Regions from separate parts of the Homo sapiens genome. Here region 2 is linked to region 1. Evidence: promoter capture Hi-C in 16 types of primary human blood cells and fetal thymus (Javierre and others, 2016). All regions are on one chromosome and are shown on one strand. Each heading gives the region's core, a stretch centred on a gene start or on the middle of the fragment in contact. The rest is flanking DNA. Distances are from core to core; before and after follow the strand shown. Region 1 holds the start of KLRC1 (killer cell lectin like receptor C1). Region 2 overlaps LOC105369657 (a long non-coding RNA gene).

Evidence for each region. Contacts are between HindIII fragments. The CHiCAGO score rates a contact against its expected background, and 5 or more counts as called.
Region 2: a contact is called between a fragment that was not itself captured here and the fragment with the promoter of KLRC1 in region 1, in 1 of 17 cell types (total CD8 T cells). The highest score is 5.1, in total CD8 T cells.

What each region holds. Positions count from the first base shown.
Region 1 is chr12:10,450,258-10,455,363 of GRCh38, forward strand. It overlaps KLRC1 (killer cell lectin like receptor C1), which reads right to left and starts at 3,120. Exons shown (of 7, transcript NM_002259.5): 1 at 2,941-3,120; 2 at 713-930; 3 at 227-322. The coding sequence starts at 899. The HindIII fragment of the contact is 4,540 bases long and covers 756-5,106 here.
Region 2 is chr12:10,512,323-10,517,970 of GRCh38, forward strand. The region is part of intron 3 of LOC105369657 (a long non-coding RNA gene); the gene reads right to left. It also overlaps a transcript of EIF2S3B not described here. Among named protein-coding and RNA genes, the nearest start is that of EIF2S3B, 9.3 kb to the left of the region's middle. The HindIII fragment of the contact is 184 bases long and covers 2,706-2,889 here.

The sequences.
Region 1 (5,106 bases), core at 1,870-4,369:
TTGAGTTATGAAATCCAAATATATACATACGATTGCATCAGAAGCGAATACTTTCAACAATTATTCTTTCATTTATTCTTTGACAAATTCAGAATAATCATTCCACATTTAGTCCAAATATATACATTACAATGAGAACTCTATTCCCTGAAAATATGAAATGTTTAGAGGCACATTCAATCATTAACGTGAAAATTCCCCTTGTAATCTTCGAAAATAGACTTACAGGGAATAACAACTATCGTTACCACAGAGGCCATTAAGATAAGACAGATAATTCCCAGGATCCCAACAATGAGCTTCTCTGGAGCTGATGGTAAATCTGCAGGGAGAGAAATGGGAACAGTGCGAAAGGAGAGGTGGATACAGTCGTTTAGAAGATTCACAGACAAGAGAACCTGAATGCACAGGAATCATACAGAGAAACTTGGACCCCAAACCCTCATCTCCCATTGTAATCTTTTTCTCAGAATAATATACCATTGAATTTTCAGGAAAAATAATGCTCCATGAATTATTTGACAAAGACTACAAACTTCAACAATGAGTTCAATCAGTCTTCATACTTTACATTGAAATAGCATATCTCAACTTGGAATTCTGATCTTTGCAAATAGAAGATATATGAGCACTCCCTTCTCTTTCCCCACATTCCTGTACCCCAAGCTGCACATCCTAGACTGTTATATTGAGGATCTTTTAAATGCTTTACCTTTGCAGTGATAGGTTTTGTCATTCCCTTGAAAATCCTGAGAAGCTTTTTGAAGGTTTAATTCCGCATAGGTTATTTCCTGTTCAGTTGCTAAAATGGAGTTTTTATTGCCTTTAGGTTTTCGTTGCTGCCTCTTTGGGTTTGGGGGCAGATTCAGGTCTGAGTAGATTACTCCTTGGTTATCCATCTCTGCAGTGTGTGATGTCAGGGACTGTACTCTATAATAACAGTAGTTAAGAAGTTAATAAATGGTTTATATACAGGATTCCCTAGTGCAATTAAAAGGGTGAGGTGGAGAACGAGTATTGGAGCTCATTTTGCATTAAATAATCTAAAGTTCTTTCTCTGATTTTCTTCAAGCCTAAACACGTTTCTTATGAATATTTGTTTTAAAAAAAGATTTTTAGGCCGGGCGCGGTGGCTCACGCCTGTAATCCCAGCACTTTGGGAGGCCGAGGCATGCCGATCACGAGGTCAGGAGATCGAGACCATCCTGGCTAACACGGTGAAACTCCGTCTCTACTAAAAATACAAAAAGTAGTCGGGCATGATGTCAGGCGCCTGTAGTCCTAGCTACTCGGGAGGCTGAGGCAGGAGAATCTCTTGAACATGGGCGGCAGAGGTTGCAGTGAGCGGAGATTGTGCCACTGCACTCCAGCCTGGGCGACAGAGTGAGACTCCGACTCAAAAAAAAAAGATAAATTTTCTGCATTTGACAAAATATTATTGCTGGGGCAATGAGAAGCAATAAATTACTAAGGAATAAAGAAGTTCAGGAATAAAAATATATTTCTTAAAGTCTGATGTTTTACCTGTGTTAAAAATTAAAATGTTGTATTAGAAAAACTTCTGCACTCATTTTTATGTTAATTTTGAAATCCAGTAATGGTTAAGACTATGTGGTCTGCACATGAGTAATAGTAAAGTTGACATATATATATATAAAAATTTCTTGCACTACATTACTTTTAATTAGTAATTTATACACATTAATGAAAATCAATAGAGGTAATTAAATGGTCTTTTCTTAATGGCTGAAATGTTCTAAGAAATTATTAAAAATTATTTATTAAAAATTATAAAAAATTAAATATTTGTATATGACAGAAAATGCTATGTGACACAGTTAACTTATGCATAACCTAAATAGTATTAGGAACACTACATAAATTGTTAATACTTACAGAAGTATTGGTAATTTAATTAGTAATTGGTAATTTATTTCCTGGCTAAATTATGAACCAAAAAATGATAAATAAAAGTATAGGTAATTCATGTTAAAGCACATTTCATTTAAACTTATAGAATGATTTTATGGTTGTCAAAGTGAGTAAAGGCCACTTTAGTTGTATAAGTACTTGTAAAATTTCAGATAATGTAATTAAATCATTTAGTCAATGGGCTCTGGAGTCAGTGAGATCTAGAATTAATTCTAGCTTTGACACTTATAATGTGCGACCTTTAAAAAGTTATTCTATTTTTAATAACCCAGTTTGTTAATCTAAAATGGGCATAAGAACATATAAAACGTTGCATGTAAAACATTTACCACTCAACCTGGCACTTAAAGTTCTCAATAAGCATTAGCTACTTTAATTATTATTTTAGTCACAATTGTTATGTTACTGTTTCTGATTCATGTCAGTTAAAGCATGGAAAATAAATCTTCAGATAAGTCTCCTATGTCCATGCGCTACATCTTTTTTTGCAATATTTTGATCAATTTTTAAAAAGTATTTTTATTGCTTTGTAATACCTTTAGCATTTTATGTAATCTACCTCATTCTGATTTTTATTAAAAATAAAAACTGCTTTTCTCTAATCTACGTGTCTGAGGAATTGTATTTGGCTTTCATCAATTGATTGATTTATTTTAATAATCTTTAATGGCTAAGCTAAATATAAATTATTATTCAAAGATACATGATGTACTGATTACAAAATACAAAATTAATTGTTCATTATTGTGATGTTAATAGCTTTCCCTTAAACGATATTGATCAACAAACCCACTAGATTTCCACAAACAATAATTTGAAAACTTTAAGAAATCCTTCAACATATTTCATATTTTAGGTTTTTACCCTGAGTTATTCAAATGAAGACAGCAATATTCTACTTTGATTTTATTGTATATTAATTATACCTCCTTTGTATCATATTGAGCACTTGAAATCACCCACTAAATGAGGTAGGCTAGTAGAGAGTTGGAGAGTAGCAATACATACCTTCTGTCCCCAGAAAGTCACACATCCTTTAGTGGAGAGGCCAGGTTAGTCTCATAAAAAGGCCTGCTATAGCTGTGTAATAAAAGGTGAAATTTAAAGGCATAAATCCAAGACAAGAACAAACAATGCCTGCAATCTTCGCAGACTGCCCTGTGAAGGCTCAGAGTGAGTCAAGAGTGGAAAAAGTAGATTTCTCATCAACGTGTTACTAAGGTTTGAACAGGAAATTCTACACATGGGCTATTGTGAAATCAGTTTTATCTCATCACACACCTCCAAAATATAGGATACTTGGTCTATTAAAAGTACAAGGTTGACTTTGAAAGTGTGTCATTTAGTTGGTTCATTTTTCAAGTGCCTATGAGAATTTTTTTTTTTTCTGTCTTGATCACGAACATTGTCAACCCTCACCTTGTTAAGAGTGCCTTTTAGACTAGGTTGCTAAATCTTAACATTGCATACTTCTTTTCTTTATATTATTTTATTATGTCACTTCCATTATAATAGAAAACATTCTAAAACTCATAGTAATATTATCAACTGATATCTACTGATTTTTTCCTTAATTATTCTGAAAAATTACTGCAGTAATTACTCAATTGATTGTAGCTGGCACAAAAAGCATCATTGCCAAAGTTATATTATTAACTTCTCTTAGTTCTTAAATTTTTGCACTTAATTTTTAAAAATAGATTATTTAATCTTCAGATTACCCTTGATAAAAATATCTTGGATAGGTAAAATATTAATCAATTTTGAAATATATTAGCATACCAGAAATTGAAATATTAAATAGCTATTCATTACATTCTTCATTTATTCATCCTCCGCCATAACAAATTATGTCGACTTTCATAGAAATATTTAGTTGTAAATGACAAAAACTGAAGTCAAACTATGTATGGGGAAAAAGTAATTTTAAAATCTTACTAGGAGGAAAGTCAGTAAATTGGCAGAATAGGTGGTCCCCCACACATATGCCCCCACAGCAACAATAATTTTTCAGCCATCCACAGACAAAAGTTCCTTTGAGGGAGTTTGGAATTCAAGTAGGAGTTTGTAAAATGCCAGTGGAACCCAAGACCTAGGAAGGTTGTTTTAGGGAATAGATTTGCATCCAAGTGGCAGACTTACCAACAGTGATTCCATCTCCAGACCTGAAAAGGGACCCATCCTCCTGTGCTTGCCTTCAGCCCCATTTAGGCCTTGGTCATGCTGCCAAAACCATTTGCCCAGGGGCCCAGGAGGAGACTCACACACTAGTGTCTCAGGAGGTAGGCATATCAACTGTAGTCTCAATGTAGACCCTGAAACAGCCCTCTAACTTGGCTTTAACTAGTGTCAGCCACAACTTGAGATCAGTCCTTCACCCACAGAGACTTCCTGGGAGACATATACATCTGTACCTCTGGGGCATGCTTGCTGACCTCTGTCCTACAGAAGATACTAAAATGGCCCTGAATCTCCACTCAAACTCCTCTCAACTGTGACCTGAGTTAATCACAGGAAATTGCTGTGAGACTCAATCATCTTTGTCAGCAGTACAGGCTTGCTGACTTCAGTTCCACGGTAGTTTCTGAAACAGCCTTGAATCTTGACCTTCACCCTTCTCAGCTGTGGACTGTGAGCAGTCTTGCCAGCTCAGGGATACAGAGGGAGGACATGTGCATCCATGTCCCAACTAGGAGACCATTGACCTAGGTTTCACAGCAGATCCTTTAATTGGACAGAAAAGGGGCTTCGACACTTCTCAGCTATGCTAGAGAGCAGTTTGCCCATACAGGGACCTGGAGAGAGACATCATTAGTGCCCCTGCAGGCACAGACCTTAGTTTTATTTCAGATCTTGAAACAATTCTGGATCCAGCTCCAGCCCAACTCAACTACAGTCTGAGGCAAATCTGCCTGCCCACAGACCTGCCAGAAAACACACTCAACCATGACCCCAGAGACAGACATGAAGACACTGGTTTCAGCTATAGACCCCGAGGAAACCTTGTGACTTAGCACTAACTCCTCTGTGCCACAGGTTGAGGAACCCACTCAGAGACCCATGAGCAGCCTTCCCAGCAAACTAGATAAACTCTTCCCCAACTACACACCTAATAATAGACCCACCATTTACAGACCTTGAAGTGGACCCTCATCCCCTCCCCAGCCCTATACA
Region 2 (5,648 bases), core at 1,548-4,047, 62 kb after region 1:
AGCATCTGAAGGCCAGCTGGCAAAAAAATCACAAAACTGTACAGATGCAGATTAATGCAGCTCCAAATTGATGGTTTTTATAATCATTTAGCCCCTCAACAGTATACAACCTACTTATTGTATCACTCCTTTTTCTCAATTCAACAGATATTTCTATTATTTAATATTTTTCTAAATTATCTACTAGACCTCCTTGACTGTCCTTTTCAGAAAATGCCCTCATCTGCTACTTGACATAGAAATAGTGACCATCAGGCATAAATTCCCTCATCTTCTTGCTTGTCCTCCAACAAATACACTGGTACCCATCCATCTATCTCAGAAAAAAAATTTATCTTCCCACTGAAAAACTCCAAAATTTCCATCCCTAGTGTGGATATCACCCCCTGTTATGTCCTAAAGAATCATCATCTCTAGCTATTCCACTTCTATTATCATTTTTCCTCTAACATTTTCCCTCCAATGTTTCTCTTCTCTTGTATATAATAATCTCAAGCCACTCTTGCTTCCCAGATTTCTATTATTTCTTTTTCCTGCTCTTTAAAACAGAGTTGTCTCTTTTTAATTTTTAGACCTTGAGGTGCCCGATAGGATTATTCACAATATTTCATTCATAAGACGCTTTTATCATTGCTCCAAGAACTTCTGTTTATTTATTTAGTTACTCACTTTGTTAGTTGTAACCCAAAACTATAGCTAGGACCATAACCATTACATTTATCTACTTGTATATTTCACTCCTTCCCGTCCTCCTACCTCATTCAAAAATGTAACTATCATACCGAATCCTATGTGATGAATTCCCTTGATTTATTTTATACATACTTTATTGCTTTGTTATTCCTTAAAATTATTTTTTGTTTTTAATGTTTTAACTTTATAAAATTGTATGACATTGTACAGAAAATTTGGTTTTTATTTTCACCTCATATTGTCATGCTCCTCTGGGAGAATCAAGGAGGTGAAGTAGATAATTTACGTAAATATTATCCTACCCCTCCTCTGCTACTTCACATAAAACTAGTGGCTATCAGGCATAAATCCCCTCACCTTCTTGCTTATTTATACTAGGGCTGAAATCAACACTGGGGTGGGAGTTTCAGACTTGTTCAGTGGGAAGAGAAATTTTTTTCTGAGACAGATGGATGGGTCCCTGTGTATTTGTTGGAGGATTTGCAATCATTATCCCATTAATGGTTATTTGGATAGTTTCGAGATGTTTCAAATTGTTAACAGCACTGCTGTAAATATTCCTGTAAATTTGCATTGTTGTACTTATGCAAATATTTCTCTTGGATATGTAGTTAGAATTCCTGAGCCATGTTCAGCTTTAGAAGATAAAATCAAACTGTTTCCCAAAGTGGTTGTATCAATTTATATTTCCTTTAATAACATATAAGAATCATATAAGGCCGGGCACAGTGGCTCACGCCTGTAATCCCAGCAATTTGGGAGGCTGAGGCGGGTGGATCATTTGAGGTCAGGAGTTCAAGACCAGCCTGACCAACATGGTGAAACCCCATCTCTACTAAAAATACAAAAATTAGCTGGGCATGGTGGCGTATGCCTGTAGTCCCAACTACTTGGGAGGCTGAGACAGGAGAATCACTTGAACCTGGGAGGTGGAGGTTGCAGTAAGCTGAGATAGTCCCATGGCACTCCAGCCTGGGTGACAGAGCGAGACTCCATCTCAAAAAAGATAAATAAATAAAAGAAGAAGAAGAATCATGTAGCTCTCCATACTTTCAATGCTTGGTAAATTTTTTTTCTTAGCCATAATTTAAAAAATAATTTTTTTGAACTCAGTGTCTCTGTTTCCTAATTGGCCAATAGGTTTTAGCCATTGCAATCTACTTTCACCATAGCTTACTCTCCCAGATACTCTACTATATTGGGTTCCCTCCTACTTGTCTCATCAAAATATCATTTTTTTTTGCTATTTACTCATATTTTATTTCTAAATGTTGACTTATCCTAAAGATCATCATTCTGACCCCTTCTCTTCTAACATAATATAATACTCCCTGATGTTACAAAGCTTTTTTTGTCATCTGGCTCTCCTTTCCTTACAATGTTTTCAAATACTTATTATATTAATTGATAATTCCACAATTTATATATCCAGTCTAGGTATCTCTCTTGATCTCAGACATTTAATCCTTCCATATACATGCCAATGGTCTATGTCTGCTACTAAAAGCTCACTCTGGAGACACAGACCAATTCTTTCTGGTTGTCTCCAGTGATATACCACAAAGCACCTAAATCATCACCATTATCACAACAAACATAGTTTAATGTTCTTCTTGTGTTTTCTATAACATTTAATAGAATTATATCCATCAAGGTGTGAAGGCTGATATGATATGAAATTATGGATTTCCTCCTCTCCCTCAACCACTGAATCCAATGCAGATTCCTGCAATTCTACGTTGTAAATATTTCTCATATAGGTTTCCTACCCATCATTGCTTTTTTTCATGATGCCAGTTTAGACAGTCATTGTCACTAACCTTGACTCCTAAAACAATTTCCTTTACATCCCCCCACCCACTTTCTAGGCTACTCAGATTGACCTCTCTAAAATCCATATCTGCTCATGTAACATGAGTCATATTGGTCCTTCACTTAAAATCATCTAATCGTTTTCTTTGCCTTTAGGGGAAATCTAAAAATTTTTAACATAGTGCAAAAGACCCTCATGAAGCTTCATACCTGTCCAAATCAATTTCTAGCCACATTTTTTATTACCCAAGAACTATTTGCAATTATAATACCTAAATCTGCCCTTTATTCATATTCTTCACTCCATCTACATTAGTCTTGTTTACCTTCAGCCCCCCAATTCCTGCTTGTCCTCTACTTCACATCAATTATGATCTACAGGGAAGCTTTTATGACCTCAAGATGTTATATGACATTCATCTGATCCTTTCATGATACGATTACAGCACTAGCAGTATTTTATATTTCAATCTGCTTCACTTAAAAAAAACTTCTCCTTTCAACTGAGCTCATTGAAAGCTGATAATTTAAAAAAAAATTCTGTATCATCGGTGCCATATATAGTTCCTGACCTATAGAAGATACCCAAAGTTGTTTGTTGAATGAATGAACCAAATAATTAATAATAATCAGAATAAAGATATTGAAAGAAAGTGTAGAGGACAGTTTTGTAAAAACTGATGTGAAATATATCAAAACTGGTATATTTCAGTTTATTACCCAGGAATTGTTGGCAATTATAATACCCAAATCTGTCCTTTATTCATGTTCTTCACTCTATAACTCTAGTAACATTTTATTTGTATAGAAAGGACATCAAATTTATTCTCTTTGTGATTTAAGCAGTATTTCAGTAAGATAAAAATGTAATAATCAAAGATTCTCCCAACTCACTGGTCATATGCAAACCCCATTTTACACACAAAAAAACTTAGTGTTATTTTATATATAATATACGTATACACACACACATACTAACTTATACTAGTATACTACATGTATATATATGTGTGTGTATACATGGGTACACTATGTCTGTGTGTATATTATATACATACTACATACATACTAATTTATACTAGTATATATATATTAGCTTATTTTTAGTATAAAATAAGTGTTAGTATACATATGTAAAATAGGTGTTAGTATATATATACACTAACATATTTTTAAATTTTATTAAAATAAATTATTTTAAAATTTTATTTTTAAAATTTCACTGGTAAGTAAAGTGTAGTGTATCTGAAATTTTTGTGTAATCACAGCTATATGCTCTTTTGTGTGGCTAAATGATAAACAAAAACTAAATGATAACAACATAATAAAATCATTTTCATCAATATCATCAGTACCATTATGATTGCTAACATGTCTCTAGAACCTTATAGTTTACAAAGTTTCGTAGAGGTTCCACAGTTATAGTGTCTCATTTTTCATCCTGTCTTATTGCTATCATATGAAATATGTGTAGCTGATACTCATGCATATATCGTAAGCCTGCAAATGCCAGCCAGCAACTCCCAGGGTTACTGCAACAGTATGCCATAAAAAGTCTATACAAAATCAAAAGGCAGAATATATAGTGAGCATGACAAAGCCCTCAGAATTAGAGCAAAATGAATATTTATTGTAGAGTTTAAGATTAAAATCACTATGCTGATCACAAATCTCATAAAATATTACACATAAATACACCTCTCAATATGTAAAGAAGGAGATATGCAAACAGGGACAATTTGACTTCCTCTTTTCCTAATTGAATACCCTTTATTTCCTTCTCCTGCCTAATTGCCCTGGCCAGAACTTCCAACACTATGTTGAATAGGAGTGGTGAGAGAGGGCATCCCTGTCTTGTGCCAGTTTTCAAAGGGAATGCTTCCAGTTTTTGCCCATTTAGTATGATATTGGCTGTGGGTTTGTCATAGATAGCTCTTATTATTTTGAGATACGTCCCATCAATACCTAATTTATTGAGATTTTTTAGCATGAAGAGTTGCTGAATTTTGTCAAAGGCCTTTTCTGCATCTATTGAGATAATCATGTGGTTTTTGTCTTTGGTTCTGTTTATATGCTGGATTACATTTATTGATTTGCGTATATTGAACCAGCCTTGCATCCCAGGGATGAAGCCCACTTGATCATGGTGGATAAGCTTTTTGATGTGCTGCTGGATTCGGTTTGCCAGTATTTTATTGAGGATTTTTGCATCAATGTTCATCAAGGATATTGGTCTAAAATTCTCTTTTTTGGTTGTGTCTCTGCCCGGCTTTGGTATCAGGGTGATGCTGGCCTCATAAAATGAGTTAGGGAGGATTCCCTCTTTTTCTATTGATTGGAATAGTTTCAGAAGGAATGGTACCAGTTCCTCCTTGTATCTCTGGTAGAATTCAGCTGTGAATCCATCTGGTCCTGGACTATTTTTGGTTGGTAAGCTATTGATTATTGCCACAATTTCAGAGCCTGTTATTGGTCTATTCAGAGATTCAACTTCTTCCTGGTTTAGTCTTGGGAGGGTGTATGTGTCGAGGAATTTATCCATTTCTTCTAGATTTTCTAGTTTATTTGCGTAGAGGTGTTTGTAGTATTCTCTGATGGTAGTTTGTATTTCTGTGGGAATGGTGGTGATATCCCCTTTATCATTTTTTATTGTGTCTATTTGATTTTCTCTCTTTTCTTCTTTATTAGTCTTGCTAGCAATCTATCAATTTTGTTGACCCTTTCAAAAAACCAGCTCCTGGATCCATTAATTTTTTGAAGGGTTTTTTGTGCCTCTATTTCCTTCAGTTCTGCTCTGATTTTAGTTATTTCTTGCCTTCTGCTAGCTTTTGAATGTGTTTGCTCTTGCTTTTCTAGTTCTTTTAATTGTGATGTTAGGTTGTCAATTTTGGATCTTTCCTGCTTTCTCTTGTGGGCATTTAGTGCTATAAATTTCCCTGTACACACTGCTTTGAATGTGTTCCAGAGATTCTGGTATGTTGTGTCTTTGTTCTTGTTGGTTTCAAAGAACATCTTTATTTCTGCCTTCATTTCGTTATGTACCCAGTAGTCATTCAGGAGCAGGTTGTTCAGTTTCCATGTAGTTGAGTGGTTTTGAGTGAGTTTCTTAATCCTGAGTTCTAGTTTGATTGCACTGTGGTCTG